7 separate regions of the Homo sapiens genome follow, and regions 1, 2, 3, 4, 6 and 7 are each linked to region 5. Evidence: promoter capture Hi-C in 16 types of primary human blood cells and fetal thymus (Javierre and others, 2016). All regions are on one chromosome and are shown on one strand. The core of a region is centred on a gene start or on the middle of the fragment in contact, and the rest is flanking DNA. Distances in the headings are between cores, read along the strand shown.

Region 1 (3,008 bases), core at 220-2,719, 1.9 Mb after region 5:
TTTCTTCACAATCACCAACTCCTTCTTTTTTTCTTTTTTATTAACACGGAGTCTCACTCTGTTACCCAGCACAGTGGGGTGATCTCAGCTCACTGTAATCTCCGCCTCCCAGGTTCCAGCAATTATCCTGCCTCAGCCTCTCGAGTAGCTGGGATTACAGGCACCCGCCACCACTCCCGGCTAATTTTGGGGTTTTTTTCGTGTTTTTTTTTTTGCGGGGGGACGGGTTTGACACAAAGTCTCACTCTGTCACCCAGGCTGGAGTGCAGCGGCATGATCTCGGCTCACTGCAACCTCTGCCTCCCGGGTTCAAGCGATTCTCATGCCTCAGCCTCCCGAGGAGCTAGGATTACAGGCGCCCGCCACCACGCCCGGCTAAATTTTGTATTTTGGTAGAGATGGGGTTTCACCATGTTGGCCAGGCTGGTCTCAAACTCCTGATCTCAGGTGATCCACCTGCCTCGGCCTCCCCAAGTGCTGAGATTACAGGCGTGAGCCACCGCACCTGGCCTAGTTTTTGTATTTTTAGTAGAGATGGGGGTTTCACCATATTGGCCAGGCGGGTCTCAAACTCCTGACCTCGAGTGGTCCGCCTGGGATTACAGGCGTGAACCACTGCGCCTGGCCACCAACTCTTTCTAATGCCATTTTTTCCCCTTGCATTTACCTCCTTTTTACCAACCTGCAGCCAAGCATAGAGTCATCTCTCTCTTTTTTTGACTCTTAGATCCTATTAGCCACATCTGGATCCAGCCTCTGAGATAGCATCATCTATAGCTATAGTGACTCTGTAATTTATCATCCAAACTGGGACACTTTTTGAGAATGGAAAGGGTCACTGTTAACAATTCCACCAGGACAGAGGGTATAAGCTGAGACTATCCTGGGAAAACCAGGACATAGAGTCACCTAATTATAGCCAGACCTTGCTTGTCACCCCCAAAACCATGTCCCTCAACCTATGGCCCTTGTCTCTTCTTATATCCTCTTGGAAGGGAAGACTCTCCACATCTCCACTGTTGAAATGATGCTCAACATTCATTTCTCAACTCAGACACCTCACCTTCCATGAAGTCTTCTCTGACCCCTAAAAAGTAGGAGGAACCCTGGAGCTCTTCCCTGCCTCTTCCACAGCTCTTACTTAGAACCTTGCACTTTATATTGCAGCTCTGGAAGCCATGTCTTAGCCCTCCCATTACACTCTAAGTTCCTTGAATACACACAATGAATAAACAGTACATATTATTAAATGAGTCAGAATTTCTTTGGAAAAGAGCTTCATCTTCCTATATAACAGCATGAAATATTGCAGACGTCCATGATTCCCAGGGAGTTAAAGAACATGTTGCACCTCAGAGCTGGAGATTCTGAGCACAGGTTGTGTAGAAGAGAGAAAAAGGTGACTTTTTTTTTCTTCCAAAGTATATGTCACAAACACTAAATTAGAGAGCTACCTTTCTTTTCTTTTCTTTTCTTTTTTTTTTTTTTTTTTTTTTTTTTTTTTTGAGATGGAGTCTTGCTCTGTCACTCAGGCTGGAGTGCAATGGTGTGATCTCGGCTTACTGCAAACTTCGCCTCCCAGGTTCAAGTGATTCTCCACCCCAGCCTCCCGAGTAGCTGGGATTACAGGCACGCATCACCATATCTGGCTAATTTTTGTATTTTTAGTACAGGTGGGGTTTCACCAAGTTGGCCAAGCTGGTCTCAAACTCCTGACCTCAGATGATCCACCTGCCTCAGCCTCCCAAAGTGCTGGGATTACAGGCGTGAGCCACCGCGCCCGGCCAGGGGACTACCTTTCTTAGGACAACATGGAGTTACTAAGCTGGGGACCTGGAAGAGAACTAGAGTATGATATAGTCTATAAGTCCTTTCTTACAGGTGGACAAAAGAGATCCAAGGTAAAGTAACGTGTCCAAGGACACAAAAGTGGTTGGTGGCAGAGCTGGGATAAAACCCCAGGTGTGTCATTCAATACCCGTTCACTTACTCACCTTTGAAATAAACTCAGAGCCTGATAAAACTCCTTTATTGCTATCATTTGTCATATCTCAGATGCCTGCTCTGTAAAAATCAATAGTCATCAATTCTCCACTCTGGTCAGGTTCACCTGACACAGCACATTAGCACATGGCCACATTTGCACAGTTTTGTACTGAGCTCTATGCACAGTGAATAAGAGAGTTCACTGACCACGATCCTTCAGGTAGCAAAGTCTCTGTATTTCCCTGCCTCAAATAGACTACTGAGCAGAGAAGATGCCCCTCTGTAGGAGGATGGAGATGATGTCGCATAAAAATAACAAGCATGTGCTTTGGAGACAGATCAGGACTGAGTAAAACCCACTGCTTCCAAGAGTTGCCCTTGGGAGAAGCAGCTCGTTTGCAGTTAGAAGCACCAACCACTGTGGTTTTCCATTTGCGTTCCACGTGTTTTCTCTGTCCACAGCATCTAATTATGCCTTGCTGGTCTCTCCTGACTTTAGTCATATGTGTTTCTCAAGTCTGGACCTCTGTTTCAGCTGCTGTTGGGGGGCAATTGCAGAGTGATTGTGAATTTGCAGGAGAAAGATGTGCAAAGGGTGCCAGGTTGCCACCTACCAAAGCGGGGGGGGGCAAAGTTAGCACCGAGAGTCTCTCAGGTGGGAGAGAAGGGTTAACCAAGGATCTCCACTTGGTGGCCTGTGGAGACAGGCCTTCAGAAACATTGGGTAGCAGAGAGGAACCCTGGGAGTGGCCTCAGAGAGCAGCCAGATCTTCCCTCTCCTCTCAGGCTCCCAGGCTGAACACTTCAGCTACTGTGTTGGTAGATGGAGCCCCAGTATCTGAGACTCCCAATGTGGCTGTGCGAGAATGGGCTGGATGGCACCTTTTCCCTACATCAAAGCTCCAGGCTATGGGGAAATTCAGCCACATACACACTGTGAAGTTCTTAATTCTGCTTTATTAATTTCCAGAGTCCTCCTTGATGTAATAAACACACCCTTCTCAATTGAGCCCAAATGTGGT
Region 2 (3,429 bases), core at 886-3,385, 1.2 Mb before region 5:
CAGGGTGCCTCTTCCGAAAAGCCGACTTTCTTACCTGGCAATCCGTTAGCTGGAAGCGATCTTTGAAAGCCATGTACACGAGGAAGGAATTTACCCCTAGTGCGGACAAAATAGAGAAGTGGACTTTTAATAGATAAACCAAATAACCAAATAAGGGATAAGAAAGTGATAATACTGTCTGTGTGTGTACGTGTGTGTGTGTGTGTGTGTGTGTGTGTGTGTGTGTGTGTTTCAGTACAGAGAAAGAGAGAGGAGAGAAATGGAGACACAGAATGGTAAAGGAAGCAGAGTACCATATAAATAACCTGTGAATGTGGGAGGAAGAGGCACAAGGATGCTTTTTAGTATTCTTATAATCTTCCTGTAAGTTTACAAGTATATCAAAATTAAAAGTTGCCAGTGTTTGCACATCCATGTTCATAGCAGAATTATTCACAATAGCCAAAAGGTGGAAGCAAAAATCAAGCCTCCATTAACTGATAAATGAATAAACCAAATGTGGTCTATCCATACAATGGAATATTATTCAGCCTTTAAAAAGGAAAGACACCCTGACACATGCTACAACATGGAGAAACCTTAAGGACATCATGGTAAATGAAATAAGCCAGTTGCAAAAGGACAAATACTATATGATTCCACTTGTATGAGGTCCCTAGAAGTCAATTTCACAGACAGAAAGTACAACAGCAGTTGCCAGGGACTGGGGTGAAGGACAGTGGAGAGTTAGTGTTTAATGAGTGAGTGTAGCGTTTTAGTTTTGCAAGATAAAGAGACCTGTGGATGGAGGGTGGTGATGGTTGCAACAACATTATGAGTGTATTTTAAAACAATGAACTGCACACACACTTAAAAATGGTTAAGATGGTAACTTGAATGTTATATTTATTTTACCACAGTTAATTTTTTAAGCTGCCTCTACCAAACAAGTCTGTTGCGACTGTAACAAGAAAATGAATTAGAAGTTTCTGCCTATGAAGAACTGTGATAAATGTCTTTTCTTTGGCAGACAGACTGCCTTCCATGCTGATTTTTAAGCAAATGATTTTTTAAGTAAGAAAAGGTCCATTAGTTCAACAAGCAGATGTCGCAATTCTCATCCTGGCGTCTTGGAGTTCTTGCCTCCCTAGGCACCAGACCAAACATCCCTGCCCAACATTCATCACAATTTTAAACAATTGTCCTGACAACCTCGCAGCCTTGGAGTTTAATTCAAGCCACCTGGGGGGTGCTGGGAGCTGCCTGAGTTAAATGCCTCTGGACATCCTGGCCCTTCTCCCGTTGCCAGGCAACAGTTACCATGGTAACCCTCCTGCCTGGTTTGGAGCAGATTCAGTCTAAGTATCCACAGTTAAACCACTTGGAGTCTCCGCATGATCAAAAGTGAGAAAAGTCAAAGTTTACCTATTTTCTTTTATGTGGAAGCTTTGTGCTGGAAAGAATCTTAGAGGACATCTAGTCCAAGACCCTCATATATGAGAAATGTTTAAAAAACTGAGACCCATAAAATTTCAGCAAATTACCCAGGGTCACACAGTTAGTCTGTGGAAGATCAGAGAAATAAACCCAAGACTCTTGCTTTTCATTCCGGGGCATTTTCTATCATTCTAGTACCTAGAGATTTCCCTCTTGCCATGTCACTCACAGCACATGGTGTTTCTAAGCCTGGAAGTCCCCAGAACCCTAAAGCAATAGGTGTTTCCCTGAACACTAAGATCCAGTGAAGTTAATCTGGTCTCTAGCCAAGCCCAGCGAGACCCAGGAAGATGATGTGGCCTGGCTCTTCCCCGCAAACCCCCGAGGTTCTTGTTGACAAGAGTCCCAGAGGCACCTTGAGGTGGTAAAGATTCCTCCTGCCTCTCTGTGAATCTTCCCAATCCCTGGAAATTTGTTCTCCAAAATAATTCTAGGGAAAGGAAAAGCCCTCTCAGGTTGTCACTCAGTTTTGAAGTGTCTCATAGCCCTCAAATCTATCCTAGATCCATCCAGGTTTGTAGGAAGGGGCTGCCCAACACTCTCCTGAGACTGTCAAATCCTCACTGAGATATGTATTTGTTATCTTTTGAGGGTAAATCTCTCTCTCAGCAGCCTCAACTCCCCACCCTGGCTAGAGAGCACGGTGCTCACAAACCAATAAGCTGTGAGCAGCTGTCACCTAAGAACAGGTCCCAGCAGTAAGCCTCATCTTCTCTTATCATCAATGAAGGCTCATGTTACTGCACTGGGTAAGGCCACCTCCAAACAGCATAAGCTGCGGCCCAAAGCCCTCTCTCCTTCCCAGGGGCAGGCATGGGCATGAGGCACAAATGGGATCTGGAAGCATTATCACTTTCTTCCCAGGGCTGTGCCAGTTGATGGACTGAAGCGGAAACATCTGCAGAGGGCATTGACTCAGTGCAACCTACCGTGATCCTTCACAAGCGCTTCCATCTCCTCCTGGATGCCCTTATGCCACTCACTGATGTCCACATGCAGAGAGTAGTCACAGCAGGACTTGCTGTCGGCCCATTCCCTCCACTGGTCAAAGGCAGCGAGCAGGCTTGTCCCAGGCTCAGGAACAACGTGGTCAACTAGAAAGAAACAGACATATGTCATCATCACCAAGAGCCTCAAGGGCCGTGGGCCAGCAGGTATTTTCCCACTTGAACCCTGAATAAGGCTTCTTGGGTTCAAAATCGAGATGGTGATCTCTACAACCAGCTTCTAAGAATCCATGTAACCCAGCTGATTATCCAAGAGGGAGAAAGCAGAAAGCAGAAACTTGGCATTGGATGATGTCTCCAGCGAAACCACACATGCACTGCCCAGATCTGATTTCCCAAAACCCCTGAAAGCTCAAGCTTTGGGTGCATTTCACGGACAACGAGTCCTTATGGACAATGGCAGTGTCAAATGGCCGGGGAGCAGCCAAACCCTTCTTTGTGTTGAAAGCAGCTTATGAGACGCCCCCCGCCAGACGGCAGGGAACTTGAAGGTGCTGGAGCAGAGCCACACGGACCGGGCCTTTCAAAAGTTCCCGGGCATTACCTGCTCTCTCATTACCGCTCACATTTCTGCAGCATAATACCACTTTGTAATTTAAGGGAAATCTTTCATCTTAAGAGTTCAAAGTGTTTTAAAACTGCAGTCATTGTTATATTACTATGGAGGTACGCTGATCTGGAAGACTGAGGACTTTGGATGCAAGCTGACCCGAGTTGGTTTCCTGGCTCCATCATTCACCTGCATGGTGTCCTGGGGTAAACTCCTTAATCTCCACTGCCCTAATTTCTGTGCTGCTTTAAAACGGGGATATTACCTAGCACATACATTTGTTATGAGGATTAAAGGAGATAGCATATCCATCAATCTTATGTCATTCCCTGATTTAAATCCTCCAATGACTTCCCCCTGCTCTTCAGATAAAGATTCAAGTCCCCAGTAAGGTTT
Region 3 (3,058 bases), core at 420-2,919, 1.9 Mb before region 5:
CTCCAGTGCTCCGTGCACTGAGGCTGCCTTTTCACCCAGCCCTGCCTTCCTCCATGCACCTGCCCCACCTCCACAGATCATGCCTCCCTCTCCTCTGCTCCTGCACAGCCCCATTGCCTGTCTCGAAAGCACCACAGGCGCCTGTCCATGGAAGGAAGCTTCCCAGGAGACAGTCAAGTGCAGCCCTTTGGATCTAGCAGAAGTCACAATGTCACGAGACACACACTTTATTTCCACTCCGCCTCTGAATCACTTCCCCTTGCTGTTTCCACATCAACAAGATGGAGAACGCAGCCCTTTCCTATCCCAAAGGCCTGCTGAGTGCAGCCACTTAACTAATTGGCAATGACCCTGCAGTCTCAGGGAGCTGGTCCTAGGTTTCTGGGCAAGGCTGTGCCCTGCTGGCTCCTCACAGTGCCCCCTCCCCAACCAGAGCCCTCTCAGCCCTCAGTTCCCGCAGGGCCAGCATTCTGCCTGCTCCAGGGCCCTCCAGTCCAGCATTTGCTAAATCACCTCCCTCCTCTCCAAGGCTTTCTCCCCATTACCTTGCGGAGGAAAGAACCAGAAAGGTTGTGATTATTGCCAGCTATAATTGAATGTAATACAAAACGCATTTGTTGAGACTTTACCACGTTTTCAGCTCCCCACCCCCGCACCCATTACCCACTGGGAGTCCCCCTGTTGCCAGCTCCTGCCAGCTCAGAGGCCAGCTGGCTTGGGGGGGTCTTGCGGGGCAGGAGGGGAGCAACAGGGATGCATTACCCTGGGCTTTCTTGCTAAAGGAACCTCTCCTCCCCTCAAAGCCTTTGATCCCTGCAGCTAGCCAGATTTTTCTTATCTCCTATTTGACTTCTGGGCTCCATTCTTCTCTTAGTTCTTCAAAAATTATACTCATTGTGCTCCTTACTTGCCAGGTCATGAATGCCTTTTGGCTGGAGTGTCTTCCTGTCTTCCCTCCTGTCTTCCTTCCTTCTTTCCTTCCTTCCCTCCCTCCCTCCTTTCTTCTTTCCTTCCTTCCCTCCTCTCTCTGCCTTCCTATGTTTCAGGAACCATAGCAGACCTGGAGCTATGAAGATAAACAGAAGAGGGAAGAAGGTCCCCATCTATTAGATCATAATCCAGTAAAAAGAAAAAAGATAAAACGGAACAAAACACACAAAAACAGCCACAGCCTGCTACGGTCTCTAATAGAACTCTAAGCATGGGACCAGATGATCACAGAAGAGAACCTGCCTACTGGGCCTCAGGATCTTAGGAAAAAGTGACCCAGAAAGATCAGGAAACCCCATGACATGCTGCCTGTAGGGCTGGTGAAGAGGGTGGGTGAGGGGTCATTGGGAAATGAGACCAGAAGGTGGCAATCTGCTAAGAAATTTTTGAACATCATCCATGGAAAAGCAGATTTTCATTTTAAAAATATAAATCTGGCACAAGGATACAGCACAGGTGTGAGCTGGAAGGCCACAGGGGCAGCGAGAATAAGTGCCTGGTGTGTGTGTGGCCACTGGCAATCTGAGAGAAGGATGCCTTGATTTGTAGCACTTGCCAATTTCTCTGGTGTAAATACTTTCATTGTGGCTGATTCCAAGCCACCAGCATGATGGCACTGAAAGGGGAGTTGGGGAGAAATGGACACCATTGGCTTGTGAGAGTTGGTTCCAGCACACCACTGTCTGAACAGCGACAGACTGGGCAAAAAGGGCAGATCTCAGGGTCCCTGGCCTCAAGCCACCTCTGACAGTTGATGTCCCACTTGTTGCCTGTAGTGGTGGCACCACCCAGTACTTCAAGACAACAATGTACAAGGTGCATGGGGGCATAGCATCTTACCATGTGCCCCTTCCTCCCAAGAGCTTCTTTTCTCTTACTCTCCAGTCCTCTGAAAGTTGTTATTTTCAAAACCACACTCTTTGTCATCTTTAACCCCAAACCAAGTTATCCTCCAACTTCTCCTCTTCAAATCATGATCTCAGCTTTTTCCTTCCCTCTCAACCTCCAACTCCTGCAAATCTCATGTCCCCCTCTGAGTGGGTCACAAAGTTGGTTGCTGAGCGGAGAAATTTGGTACCATGATGAATCAATGCTTCAATTTGTCTGAGTTCTTCCCCATTTTCTTGAGAGTTTAACAAGGAGGTCAGATGATAGCAGGTGAATTCCTAGTTGGTCAAATGGTTTCTTCTAAAGACTGCTAATCAAATGTCTGCATTAACCTGGATGGCAGACTGTTGTTTTAATTGTTCCTGTTCACGCCTTTTAATTGGGTATGAAGGAGCTTGTGGTTATTAAACAAGAAGCATCAAGTTGAGCACAGGATTGGGAGAGATTATGGCTTTAACAGAGGATCAAAAAAAGTTCTTGAAATCCTCACAGGCTGGTAAGTCATGCCAAGTTTAACAAAACGCAACTTGTGAAGTGGGATAAATGAGCCATTCTTCATGTAGATTTAAAAAAAAAAAAAAAGCCTTCCCCAGTCTAGGATGAGAAAGATGTGGTTTAGCAGTGGATGGATTAAAAAATAGGATTTAGGCTAACTGTAAATTCACTGTTAGTCACTATGATGTGGCTGCCAAAAAAAGTTAATGTAGTGTTGGGATTACCAGAAAACCCCTAAGAAACTATGGTGATTTCCCTCTGGGCTCTGCACACACGATCCCACCTCAGCAGTGAAAGCTGAGGGCCTGGGGTTTGAGAGGCCGTCTTCTAGGGCAAGGGCATTCAACAAGGCCCTATCACATGGTGCAGACCCCTAAAACCAAAGAGAGAGTGAGTCATGGGAACGCAGGATGGATTGCTGGTTTTGAACGGTTGTAGGACTGTCCCGTGAAAGATGGATCTGACTCCTTCATCCAAATCAACGTTAAGAAGAAATGTAACAGCTAGAGGAAGAGGAGCTTCACATTTGCATATCACATGCTGAATCTCCCTTCATAGCATTTGCACCCTTGCTACCTCACTGATATCTCCCAAGGCAGGCTGCTCTCCCATTTTGAGGATGAGGAAAAGCGACTGACTGAGCAGCTTGCCTGGGGTCCCCTTTCTTCAGTGGCAGAGATAAGAC
Region 4 (3,283 bases), core at 401-2,900, 1.9 Mb before region 5:
TCCAACCATACACAATCCAGAGTCAACTACGCCAGAGCCTGCCTGCTATGTTACCACCCTGCCAGTCTTTCCATTGTCCCAACTTCTTCCCTTTCCGGGGTCTGAGCCTTTAAAGGTCATCTCTCAAGCTTTCGCCCATGTCTCTGTGCCCATGTCAGGCCACAGCTTCCTTTCTTACCTTCTTGCCCAGTATTCTTCCTCTTTCTCTCTCTTACCCCAAACTCCAGAGTACCATTTGCCAGCTGACACATTTTCTTAAGAAAGGACCAATGGTAAAGGATGGGGAGGGGGCTGTGTCTCTGTGCAGTAGGTGGTGAGTGTGGCCTCTGAGATGGATCAGACTGTCTCACCCCAGAGAAGGTAGAAGGAGAGACCTCCAGGGCCACCACACAAAACATCAGCAACCCAGAAGCCTTTGTGCTGATGGAAAGAGCAATGAAGAGCTGGGGGGCCCACCCAAGAAAATCCTTGTTATCATGTCACAAGCCTAAAGGTCCCACTCTGGTGACTTACAACTCTGGACCAAGGCCTGCAATCACATCACTTGATGTCTGAGTCTCTCAACTGCCTCCAGGACCCTGCGCAGCCTTAGTTTCTTCCCATTTTTAAAGGAAGATGATAAAGATATTCCAGGCGACAGAAAATACAGTGTCTTGTTTCTAATCTGTAACTGTAAACTTGTTTTTTAAACAATTTTATATATGGTTCCATAAAATGTAAATTAAAGACCAAGGCTGATTTACTAAGTGGGGATTAGAAAATCCTAAATAAAGAGGGAAAGATTGGTGTGGTTGCTTGATTGGTTTACTTGCTTGCATTTCTTCTTTTGTTCATTCATTCATGAGTCCATTGTCCATTCATCCATCTACTTATTTTTAAATATCACATTTGCTTGAATAGGAGGTAAAGCTCTCTACCTTCCCAAATTATCTGTCAGAAAGGAGAAAGTTTATATCCAAGCCCTTACAGAATCTTTCATGTTATGGGTTGCTTTCTCAATTATCTTATTTTGAACAACAATATACTGTTTGGGAAAAGTATTAGCACTCCAATCAATCAAGGCTAGTTTGGGATGCTTACAAAGGTTACTTAAAAGAATTGGTTTTTATGAAAAGCAACCACCATACTATAATATAGATTCAGCAATTTTTCTTTTTAAAATTTTTTCTTTCTTTCTTTCCATAGGTTTTTGGGGAACAGGTGGTGTTTGGTTACATAAATAAGTTCTTTAGTGGTCATTTCTGAGATTTTGATGGACTCACACCACTGGAGCAGTATATATTGCATCCAATTTGTCTTTTATCCCTCACCCCCCTCCCACCCTTTCCCTCGATTCCCCCAAAGTCCATTGTATAATTCTTATGCCTTTGCATCTTCATAGCTTAGCTCCCTCAGCAATTTTTTTGAGGGCATAACCTTAAAATTTCAAGTGCTAAATGTTGTAAACAAACCTTTAAAAGATCATTGTCTAAAAAGCAGTGTACTGAGTGGTTATATTGTTGACATAAAAAATAAATACTTTGTAAAGGATTTGAACAGACATTTTTTTTCCCAAGAAGACATACAAATGGCCAACAAGAACATGAAAAGATGTTCACCATCATTAATTATCAGGGAAACGCAACTGAAAACCACAGTAAGATACTACTTCATCCCCACTGGGATGGCTAACAACGAAATTACAGACAACAACAAGTGTTGGCGAGAACGTGGAGGTATTAGAACCAAGAAGTACTGCTGATGGGAATAAAAAATGAGGCAGCTGCTGTGAAAAACCATTCAACAGTTCCTCAAAATGTTAAACAGAGTTATCACAGGACCCGGCAACTCCACTCTTAAGTCTATAGCTCAGAGAAATGAAAACATATGTCCACAAAAAAACTTGTATGTGAATGTTTATAGCAGCAGTACTTACAATGGTCAAAAAGTGGAAACAATCCAAATGTTTACTAATGAAGAGATAAACAAAATATGGCATATCCACACAACAAAATGTTACTCATCAATAAATATCAATCAAAACGAAACGAAGTACTAATAGATGTTACAACATGGAGGAAGTTTCAAAACATTGTGCTAAGTGAAAGCAGCCGTCGCGAAAGGCCACAGTGTTGTACAATTCCACTTATATGGAATGACCAGAAAAGGCAGATCCATAAAAATAGAAAGTAGATTAGTCTTGCCAGGGGACGGGGGAGTGGAGAACACGGTGTGACTGCTTATGGTACGGGGGTTTCTTTTTGGAGTGACGAGAATATTCTGCAATTAGATAGCAGTGATGGAGGGCCAGGCGCAGTAGCTCACGCCTGTAATCTCAGTACTTTAGGAGGCCAACGCGGGTGGATCACTTGAGCTAGGAGTTCAAGACTAGCCTGGCCGACATGGTGAAACCCCATCTCTACTAAAAAATACAAAAACTAGCCAGGCATGATGGCAGGTGCCTGTAATTCCAGCTACTTGGGAGGCTGAGGCAGGAGAATCACTTGAACCCAGGAGGGAGAGGTTGCAGTGAGCTGATACCATGCCATTCACTCCAGCCTGGGCAACAGAACAAGACTCTTGTCAAAAAAAGAAAAAAAGCGGTGATGGTTGCACAACTCTGTGAACGTACTAAAACTCATTGAATTGCACATTTTTAAAAGGTGAATTTTACGGTATGTGAATTGTATCTCAAAAAACTACTATTCATCAATAAGTATTAATTAGCGGTTATTAAAAAACTGGCAGTGGCGGGGGGAGGGGGGACGGGTGGTGGGGACGTGGGGCTGAGGCAGGAGAATCGCTTGAATCCAGAAGGCAGAGGGTGCAGTGAGCCGAGATTGTGCCACTGCACTCCAGCCTGGGTGACAGAGAGAGACTCCGTCTCAAAAATAAAAAATAAATAAGTAAATAAACTCCTTTTGGATCAATTTGAAACAGCTAACTCTCTTTAGACCACAGGGACTATGATGCCCACAGAACATGAAGAGCTGATGCAGAAAGGGTTCTGGTGACAAGAAGGACACTGATGTCAGAGATGGGAGTGAACAGTTACAATGTTTCCTAAACTGGGAGAGTTGGGGGAAAGCAGTATTTAAGTTAATGTATTGTTATTAGCATGTGATTGAAAATGTATCGCTAAAATAATCTATTCAACATTATCCTACAAAGTTTACATATGAAAATAAGCTTTTTAATTTTTTTTTAGCAGCCCTCCTTATTGGGAGAACAGAGCTGCCTTATATCAGGCACACATTGTACGTACTCAATGCCAGCTGTGTGTCAGGTACCAGGCTGTGTCCTT
Region 5 (3,308 bases), core at 234-2,733:
GACCGCCACCCTGTTGTGCTAGCAAATACTAGATCTTATTCATTCTTTGTTTTTCTACCTATTAACCATCTCCACTTCCTTCCCATCCATCCCCAATACACTTCCCACCCTGTGCTAACCATTCTTTTACTCTAAGCGCGTACTTTTAAAGCCAAATTAAACAGAAAGAAATGGAGAAAACTGCTGTTCAGGCACCAAAGCAGACCCCAAAGGATAAGCCATGGCTTTTCAACCGTAGCGAAAACCTGAATCATAAGGGTACCCCTCTCAAGACGCAGCTCTATCCATTTCCAGAAATTCTCTCAACAGGTCCGGATGCACTCCTGGTCACCCAGAGCAGCTCCTGACAGGAGTACTAATTCTGTGCTGCAGGGTAAGCCGAACAAAGTGCCTAGAAATGCCCCGGAGAAACAGCCCCGTGGCAGCGCGGATGCAATCCTACCTCTCACGCCGCACCTGAAGGCCCGCCAGGCAGACAGGCTTACTCCCAGAGCCCCGTGGCAGGCGAGCGTCGCGTCGGCCGCTCCTTCCAGACCCCGGCTCCTCTGTCCGGAAGGGCTCTCCTGGCAAAGCACCCGCAGCCGGGAGCCGCTCTTCGAACCCGGAGCCCGAGGTCCCGACGGCTGACCTGGACTCACAGCCTGCGCTGATCCTGGCCTGCGCTCTGCCCGGCAGCCTCCTCCACCCGCCTCCTCCGCCCGCCGACCGATTCAAATCCCCGACCCCGCCCCTCGGTACCGAATTTACTCTACGAATCACTCCGCCACCTCCCCCTTCTCCAGTCCGCGCACACTCCGAGCGCTCCCAGGCCTCTCCCTCGGCACTGGAGTGGCTTCCTGGGCTCGGAGAGGGACCACCGCGAGCTGCAGTCAACCCGAGGACTACAGACACCTGCCACTGCCTTGTGACCTCGGGGACTACTTTTCAGGAGAGTCTCGCGGAGTAACGCTTCTCTTAGCGCTTTAACTCCGCCTCCCACCTTTCTATTGGATGCTGCAAACTTCGAAAAGACTCATTCAACCAATCCTAACAGAGCGACGAGCTGGCTCTTACCCAATCAGTCCGTCCCTACCGCAGCCGTTTCCTAGCTGGGCCGGCTTGTGGGCGGGGCTAACGCTGGAGGAGGGGCTGACTGGTGCTTGGGTCCCTTTCAGCGCTCCACCTCCTTTCCCCAGACCCCGCCCTCGTATGCAGATAAGCGCTACCTAAACTAGAGGGTGCGCCTGCTCAGTAACGCTGGAAGCCGCCGTCCGGCTCCAGGAGCCTCTCTGATTGGCTGATGCCCCTTCCCGTCTACTAGCCTTCAGCGTCTCTTCCCTCCCTCCGTCCCGGCTAGGTTAGCCAGAGCCCGCCCGATACTGGGTGCTGATTGGCTGGACTCTGTCCGGTGACGCGGGTTGGTTGGTACGGCAGAGTGTCAGTCTCGGAGAGGTGGGGGAAGGGCCCCAGGCAGGCTGAGGAGCCTAGGGGCGGGGTGGGAAGGAGGACCGGCCGAACCTTGGGTGTGGGACAGAGTGCGTGCGTGTGGTGTGTCCCCAAGGGCAGGAAGGTGGCGAAGGGAGGCGAATCCGAGTGGGTGGAGGGAGGGGAAGGGCGGGAGGAGAAAAAGGTGGGAGGAGGACCAGGTGGGAGGGTGGCGGCTCACTCAGGACCCAGCGGGGGCAGCGCGATGAGGCGGGTGACCCTGTTCCTGAACGGCAGCCCCAAGAACGGAAAGGTAACGGGGGCGTGAGGGGGCGCGGCGGGCCGGGGGTCGGGGCGAGGGCGGACGGTGCGGAACCGGCTGGCGGGGCAGCGGTGAAGTTGGGTAGAGGGGCTGGGAGGTGGGCGTGCGCGGGCTGGGGGCGCTCGGGGACAGCACAGGGTCCCCGCGGCCTCCTCCCGACCCTCAGGACCCCCGTGCCCGAGCCTGCCCTTCAGTGCCTCAGCTGCCTGGGGGCCGGCGCGGTTCGGCCCGGGGGCTCCGGGTCTCCCGGATGCTTGGTGCGGGGGGCGCGGGGACGGGGGCGCGGGGAGGGCCGCGGTCACCTGGGCGCCCGGGCGGTCGCGCCTCTTCCCGCCTCTCCCCGAGACCCCGCTCCCGCCTGCGGGAGGAGGCGCGCCGGCTCCGGTGCTGAGTAATGATCTGCTCGGAAAGTGGCGGCGAGCACCAGAGCCTGTGGAGATGGGTCAGGGAGACAGAAGTAAACTGCCCGTGGATAAACAAAATCTCCCATCCGAGGTCGCAGACAGGATTTTTAAAATGGGGGCATTTTCTTGTTGATTTTTGCCCTCCTCTCTGAGATGCCTCAAGCCCCCACGCCCCGCCGCCGCCAAACTTCTCTGTACTCTTTTTATTATTTTGCCTTATTTTGATTCCCTAGAGGACGGGTACAGCAGACCCAAAAGGGATCGATTTGACAGTCGCCTTTGCTGTGTTAGGCCTTTGCGGAGAGTGTGGTGCTCAGTGTTCTTCCAGCGCTGGAGCAAGCCAAAACGAATTCTCTTCCTTCCCAGCCTTTTGCCCCACCCATGAAAGTTGTTCTGCTCCTTTGGGAAATTTTCACTGTTCGAGGCAGACATTTATTGCGTTGCTAAATGATACCTAGAAGTAACTCAGCCTTTACGAGTCTAAGGTAAAGGTAAATGGGTCTCGCTGTGTTGGTTGCCAAAATACTCTGCTGCCTGCACATTCGGGGAACACTGTAAATTTTTAAATAGTGAAATTGTCCAGTGGCATTAAAAATGGCTTTCCGATTATTCAGTGTAGAGTAAACATGCTCCGAAAATTCGAACCAGAGTGTGGTTTGTTGGCTATAATTTTATGTTCTTTTGGTCTTAGAGATTTAATACTCATTTAAAATCAGAATTCGTATAAATTCGAGTTCTTGAGTTATCATGAATGCTACCCCGAAAATATGTTCACGAAGTTTACATTTCTCATCACTATTAACTTTTTCTAAACCTGTTCTGTACTTAGCTACTACCTGTTATCTAAAACGTATGTTGTTACTCTAAGAAAGATTTAGTATGTTCAAAATTGGTAATATTTCTCAAAAACAAACTTCTGGTTGACCTTTTTAATGCAGTATCTCTGCTATGTTACTCATGGAAGACAAATATTTAAACCTAGTCATAAATATTTTTGCTCTAAATCTCTCCCAAATCCACTCAATTTGGTTGTCAAAAATTAACTGAGTTGGTCTTTCCATATTGTTGTTCACACGGATTTTTTTTTTAAGCTATCTAGTTTTGACTAGATTAGATTCTTGGATTTAAATTTTATTTACTTTAAAAATATTCTGCTAGAGAATCTCAGAAGATTGGGG
Region 6 (3,001 bases), core at 121-2,620, 1.2 Mb before region 5:
AAATACTTCGAAGCTTAATAGCATATTCCTCAATAACTCATGGGTAAAAAGAAAATGAATACGGTAACTTCAGTGAAACTTATAGCACTAAATGCCTTCATTGGAAAAGAAAAAATACATCAGATTCCACTTCAGAAAACTAGAAAAAGGAGAGCAAATTAAATTCGTCCTAAATAGAAGAAAAGAAATTATGAAAATCAGAGTGAAGTATCAATTAAATGCAAAACAGTAAAACAATAGAGAAAATCAACTAAACTATTAGCTAGTTTTTTCAGATCAATGAAATTGATAAACTAACCATTGTGATAAGGAGAAAAAGGGAGATGATGCAAATTACTAACATTGGGAAAGAGAGGATGACATCACTGAAAATTCTATTAATATTAAGAAGATAATAAGGAAATATGATTAACAATTCTATGCCAATAAATTCAACAACTCAGACGAAATGGACAAATTCCATGGAAGACACAAACTACCAAAGCTTACTCAAGAAGAAACAGATAAACTAAATAGCCCTATGCCTATTAAAGAAATTGAATTTGTAGTTTAAAAACATTCCCACAGAGAGAACTCTAGGTCCAAATGGTTTCAATGGTCAATTCAACCAGTCAAGCAGTTAAGGAGGAAATAATACATTGAATACATTCTTGCATTAAATTAAAAAAGAAAGAACACATCCCAAATCATTATAGGAAGCCAATATTATGCTGATACTTTACTTTTTAAATATGTTCTTACATTTAACATACATTACTTTTCTTTTGTTTTAAATCGTTATTTTAAAAAGCTTGTTTGGTCTATGTTCCATTCACCTAAGGTGCTAAGTCTTAATTAGTACAGATAAATGAATCAGCATGAATAGTATATAGGCAGCTAATATATTACCTATTTCGGGTATCATAATACCTGTAATCCCAGCTACTCAGGAGGCTGAGGCAGGGGGATCCCTTGAGTCCTTGTGGTTTATAGTTCATCACAACACTGATCAGATGAAATAACACAAATGCAGTGACAGTGCTGAGCCTCATTCCCCATACATCCAGTGTGATACGAAAGCCAGGCTTGGGTACGAGAGCCAAATTCAGGGACAGGAGGGAAGGAGATAAAGAATGGTCACAAATTTGACCAGTCACTGGTAATTTACAGTGCCTCTGTTGACAGAGAGAGAGAGAAAGGGAGAGAAAGAAAGAGAGAGAGAGTAACTACAGGATTTTAACATGAAGCACCGAAACAGGCTGCAAGAGGGAATGAAAGCCTGACTCCTATTGCATCTGGTTAGCTAATTTGACAACGCTGCAAACTGTGAAGTCCTCATTAGGGAAAAAGTCAGGCTGGTGGGAGCAGGGGAAAGCAAAAAGAAGCAAACAAGCTACAAGTCTGCCTTTCTTCATGGTCCAGGACACACAGCCCTCCTGTGTAAATAACTCACAATCTTCCTGCGCCCGACTTATACCACCAGACACCTGCAAGCTCGCTCCCTGCAGCCTCGGCGTGATCGTAGTGTACATAGCCCACTCCAGCACAGTACCATCCTATGAAAGCCCCAGCAAGCCTTTGTCTCCTTGCAGTCAGCTCTGCCACACAAACGCTATCTGAACACAGGGCGCCTCTATCAGGAAAACCAATTTACTTAATAAGGGGATCTGAGATTTTGGCCCCTAATAATCAACTTTTTTAGTGTCTCTTGCTAAATCTACACACCATTATGTTTAATACGTAGCTTTCTAAACTCAGAGTCACCTGTTGGTCTCCTCATGGACCGAATGCAGGTCCACATCCAGATACAGCTGGCTGGGTGCTTGCTTAGGAACAGATACTGCATTCTGTCCTTTTCTTGCTTAGGAACGGAAGTTGCATTTTGTCTTCTTGAGAACTTGCTCTCGCACAGCTTGTACACTACTGCCACCTACTGGACAAACTAAGCTAAGCCGCCAGAGGTAAGCTTTCCACAGCTGTCATTCCAAATTACCTGACAAATACTTTGTCAACCAAGACTACCATTAATTAGGTCACCATATTATCCTAACTACTGTCATCTAGGAGGAAAGGGGCAAGAGCAGGCTTTATTTCCACTTATGAAAGTAGAATTAAATATTGAAAGGCAACCAGGCCAATGACTGTTTTTCTAAATAAGGACCTGAAGGACAGAATACTCATTTGGGAATGGCTGGAACCCTCATGGCAGGGTGGGGCGTGGAGGGGAAGATGGAGAACAAGGAATGAGGGAGAGAAAGAGCAATAATAATCCCAATGGAGTAGCCCTCCATGAACTTTATAACATTTCAATAAGATCAGATGTGCAAATAAGCCACTAAAAACTGATAGAACGCACTATCACTATCAGCTCATCAGGGAATGAACAGCAGGTCCACACACACCTTGGTCCTCAAACAGTTTACATAAAAAGCTGACGTTCAAGGACCAGATCAGTGCCCTTGGAGATGAACTAGGCCCAAGACACATATGGAACGGGCCTGTGGGTCATCGTGCTGCAGTTTCAGACTTCCCTGTTTTTGTCTTTATTCAATTTCACGAAGGCTTGAGAACTCTTTGGGAAGTCTTTTTCATCCCCACAGTTAGCTGCATCCTCCTAATTATGTATCTATGGTTTATAGCTTATCACAACACTTATCAGAATTTTTTTGAGACAGTCTCAAATTTATGAATTTATCAATGAAACACTGAGGACAATTGAGTCAGGAGCTGAGGCCATGAGCCAGGGAGCCCTCAAATGCAGCTAGAATCCATGGAGCCTGGCGTAGATAAGTGCAACACTTTGGGAATCTATTCCCCATTTTTCATAAGATGAAAGTGTTAAGATCATCATCTAGTGGGGGGACACTTGGACCTTGTACATAATTTTGTAATTAATCTGAAGATGAAACCGCCTTTGCAAAAATCGTATCAGTGATAAAACTGTGCCAATGAGGGAAATCTGATCTAGCCAGCCCCCCTCTTGCCTTTGGCCTTCAAGCTGCCAAGCTAACTTTGGGAGACA
Region 7 (3,207 bases), core at 223-2,722, 1.2 Mb before region 5:
AGCTCCCCCCAGCACAGGGCTAACTCCCACCCCACAACAATGCAGCCAAGCTTCTCTACTTCCCCAAACACAGGGCCCTCAAGGGCAAACACACCACAGTCAGGAATGTGTTTTCCTTCCTCTCCACAGCCTTTCCGAAGGCCTTATCACTTGATGATACACCACAACACCCTCCCTGTCGGCCACTCTGAGAGCTGGCTCTGCACAGCTGCCCCCTCCTGCCTCAGGAATTTCACAAAGGACTCGCTGTTCAGCTGGGGAGTGCTGGAGGCCACAGCAGGCAGCTCACTCCAGGCCACCAGCAACCACGCCCCCACCCCCAGCAGGAGGGAGGACTCCAAACCCAGGGAAACCTCCTCCAGAAGGAAGCCCCAAGGAAGAAAAGGGCCAGTGCTAGGTGCTCGGAAGGCCTAGGAGGGTCCCCTTGGCTCCTGGCCTGCTCAAAGTCTCCCATGCAGAAGCTGGTGCAAAGAGCTATCAGGTGGCTGCACAAACCACTCCGGTTCATCCCGAAGTGGAAAAACACCACATAATGAGAAGGCCTTGGCCGCTGCCAAAGACCTTTATAAAATGCAAATGGCTGGGCAGGACCCAGCAGCAGTCATCAGTTCTCAAAGGATCTCTCTGGCTCCCCGCTTTTGGTTCAAGGATCAAACAGATCTGGTTAAGCAAAACTCTCCTGACCCAGCCAGGCCTGGAGGTCCCGCTGGCCACAGTCCATCTAAGCACAAAGGTGAGGGCTGTGTAAGTCACAGGAAAACAAGAGATGCGTGGCCCTAAAGGCTTCCTGCTTTTGTCCACATGAAGAAGTTCATGAGAGCAGAGGCACTTGGAGATAAAGAATGGCTGGATAGTCTCTGAAAATCCCTGGACACACATAAACATTTTCCTGAGTTTCCTGTAACTTGCCGACGCTCATCCTCTCCCTGTGCCTGCTCCTCGGCCCTGCCTCTAGAAACTTAAGTACAAGGAGGGGCTGGTTCTTGGAAAGTGGCCTGAATACCATGGGGATGAATGCTGCTGACCACAGGCTTATCTCTCCCTGCGAAACACAACTCAGCTTGGGGTGGGGAGCTGCTCTATGAGGAGCTGGATTCCCCTTCTCTCTGTGCACAGGAATATCTACCTCACTTCAAGAGAATGAACTTGGCCTTCTGCCTCTAGAAAACCCAAAATGGGGTCTGAGCTCTCAACGCCACTGCTGAGCAGAACCTGCCTCTTTAGACAAAGGCTGAGTGGACTTCTGGGCCACAGCTAAGCAAAGATAGGGACATTCAGGGGCAGGGGCAGTGGATGCCAGGGGAGGGATGGAGCCATCCTGTGGTTCATTTCTACTTTGCTCTGTTCAACTTCCCTCAGGGATTCAGAGGTCCTTGCTGTCTTTTGGATTTTCTTTCTTTCTTAGCCCAGAATCAGCGACAGGAGTTTAGCCATCATGTTCCAGGCCTCTACCTCCACAAGAGTATGATCTATACATAGAGTCTCTGCCTCCCATCCCCAGTGGTCTGGAGCTCCCAACCCAGGGCTCCCCTCCTGGGTCTATAAACATTCACAGGAGGGTGCTGTGGATGCACTTCCGGAGCTCAGCCAGGCCACAGACACCCTTGAACTGCATGCCAGAAATAATTACCACTAATAATAATAAACCACGAAATGGGCTTAATTGGCCCTTCTGCACTTCTCTAAATACACTGCTGATGCTATCTGGGTGCCCGTTAGACCTTTGTGATTTTCTTCTCCAGGTAAAGTCTAAACTGAAGGATGTGACCAAGCCAGCCTCTGGCAGGCTCTCTATAAGGCCAAGAACTGCAGGGGATGGGAGCTGGTGCTTATTTACAACCAGTCTGGGGCCCGTGTGCATTCATGAAGAATAAATGGAAGGCTGCGGTTTAAATATGCTTGATAGCTCCCAGCTCTGGCAGTCATTTCCCATGGACGAGAAGCAGGAGAACAAATCCAAAGTGGGAACTGTGGGAAATCAGTATCTGTAGCTCCATATGCAGCCACCAAAGCACAGTGAAAACCAACTGGGATGGACAGACAGACAGACAGTTACACACGCTCTCACCATTCTCCTTTGCCTTTCCAAGAATTTATGCCAGACCCTAACAAACAGCCTGGGGACTGTGCTGTCAGGTTTTCGTAGCAAGAGTGGTTCTAGAAGAACATCATCTTAAAAATGAGTTTTCTGAATGGGTTCTGAGGTTTCTGAAATTCGTTCTCAGATCTGATTGGGTTGAAAGGCACTAATGATTCTACGTCCAGTAGTAAAAAGAGGAGAGTACAGGGCATGATGGGACAATAGAGACACAGAAAATATTATTAAATACTCCCAAAGGCTTCTAAGAGGCAAGGTTCTAGGTGGGTGTGTAGCAGATACCTTAAACATTTTTGTAAAATTAACAAGTATAACGAGAGTGGTTGGTTGCTCCTAATTGTACTAGACAAAGTGGGGGAAAAAAGAAGAATGAATTCAGGGATTCAAATTCCCAGCTCAAGCACCACATGAATGAATCAAAAGTTTCTATGTCTGCCCTTATGTCCCATAGATGCAGAGCTGAGATGGCTGAAAACCAGAAGTAGGATCTCATCCTGGCAGTGGCTGAATTACAATGCAAATTGAATTCCCAACCTTGCAGACCATCTGCCGTTAAAAGTGAGGGCATAGATTGGGAAGGAATTCTGCCTTTGGACTCCGATGCCAACATCAGCTCTTCCTTGGTTCTCCAGTCTGTGGCCTGATCTGCAGATTTCAGACTTGCCATCCCCACAATCGTGTGAGTTGATTCCTTAAATATAATTCTTTAAAATAAATCTTCCCCCTTTCTCTACTGTCCTCTCTCCTCTCTCATCCCCCTTTTCTGTTCAAGATTGCAACATCAAGCATAAGCTTAACTAAGGACTCATCCCCAAGCTGAGGTGGTCCTCACAGGCCCTGCGACCATGTGCTTCTCATAACGTTTGAGTCACTCCTATTGACCCACAGGACATAAGAGGTCTTATCTCAAATTGAGGTTCCCAGGGTTTAATGTCCTGAATGTTTCTGCACCCGGGTTATGGGAGAGGGGTGAGGAGGAGGACGGAAAAGAATGTCCATCAGATGAGGTCATCAGGCACTGCCCACGGCCACCACTCACACATGGAAGGCATCAGCAGTCATGCTGGATTTCACACATGGACAAAATGTGGTCAGAGGGAGCCCATTCT

What was found. The method cuts DNA at HindIII sites, captures the fragments that hold promoters and counts their contacts. A CHiCAGO score of 5 or more calls a contact.
Region 1: a contact is called between a fragment that was not itself captured here and the fragment with the promoter of KCTD9 in region 5, in 1 of 17 cell types (neutrophils). The highest score is 8.0, in neutrophils.
Region 2: a fragment that was not itself captured here is called in contact with the fragment with the promoter of KCTD9 in region 5 in 1 of 17 cell types (total B cells); the score reaches 5.5 in total B cells.
Region 3: a contact is called between a fragment that was not itself captured here and the fragment with the promoter of KCTD9 in region 5, in 1 of 17 cell types (neutrophils). The highest score is 6.0, in neutrophils.
Region 4: a fragment that was not itself captured here is called in contact with the fragment with the promoter of KCTD9 in region 5 in 1 of 17 cell types (neutrophils); the score reaches 8.6 in neutrophils.
Region 6: a contact is called between a fragment that was not itself captured here and the fragment with the promoter of KCTD9 in region 5, in 8 of 17 cell types (total B cells, total CD4 T cells, naive CD4 T cells and 5 more). The highest score is 20.4, in total B cells.
Region 7: a fragment that was not itself captured here is called in contact with the fragment with the promoter of KCTD9 in region 5 in 1 of 17 cell types (total B cells); the score reaches 7.7 in total B cells.

The regions. Positions count from the first base shown.
Region 1 is chr8:23,519,167-23,522,174 of GRCh38, reverse strand. No RefSeq gene overlaps it. Among named protein-coding and RNA genes, the nearest start is that of SLC25A37, 8.3 kb to the left of the region's middle. The HindIII fragment of the contact is 9,103 bases long and covers 1-3,008 here.
Region 2 is chr8:26,623,284-26,626,712 of GRCh38, reverse strand. DPYSL2 (dihydropyrimidinase like 2) reads right to left here. Exons shown (of 14, transcript NM_001197293.3): 4 at 2,406-2,570; 5 at 35-96. Among named protein-coding and RNA genes, the nearest start is that of DPYSL2, 110 kb to the right of the region's middle. The HindIII fragment of the contact is 1,415 bases long and covers 1,428-2,842 here.
Region 3 is chr8:27,387,220-27,390,277 of GRCh38, reverse strand. The region is part of intron 1 of PTK2B (protein tyrosine kinase 2 beta); the gene reads right to left. Among named protein-coding and RNA genes, the nearest start is that of MIR6842, 45 kb to the left of the region's middle. RefSeq lists an enhancer at 2,539-2,588. The HindIII fragment of the contact is 3,018 bases long and covers 161-3,058 here.
Region 4 is chr8:27,336,437-27,339,719 of GRCh38, reverse strand. All of the region lies in intron 1 of PTK2B (protein tyrosine kinase 2 beta), which reads right to left. Among named protein-coding and RNA genes, the nearest start is that of PTK2B, 13 kb to the right of the region's middle. The HindIII fragment of the contact is 3,040 bases long and covers 131-3,170 here.
Region 5 is chr8:25,456,608-25,459,915 of GRCh38, reverse strand. It overlaps KCTD9 (potassium channel tetramerization domain containing 9), which reads left to right and starts at 1,483. Exons shown (of 12, transcript NM_017634.4): 1 at 1,483-1,717. The coding sequence starts at 1,670. CDCA2 (cell division cycle associated 2) reads right to left here and starts at 683. Exons shown (of 15, transcript NM_152562.4): 1 at 443-683. RefSeq lists enhancers at 785-1,014, 2,385-2,434 and silencers at 1,155-1,364, 1,725-1,774. The HindIII fragment of the contact is 4,823 bases long and covers 1-3,308 here.
Region 6 is chr8:26,669,617-26,672,617 of GRCh38, reverse strand. No RefSeq gene overlaps it. Among named protein-coding and RNA genes, the nearest start is that of DPYSL2, 160 kb to the right of the region's middle. The HindIII fragment of the contact is 1,155 bases long and covers 793-1,947 here.
Region 7 is chr8:26,638,878-26,642,084 of GRCh38, reverse strand. All of the region lies in intron 8 of DPYSL2 (dihydropyrimidinase like 2), which reads right to left. Among named protein-coding and RNA genes, the nearest start is that of DPYSL2, 130 kb to the right of the region's middle. The HindIII fragment of the contact is 2,840 bases long and covers 53-2,892 here.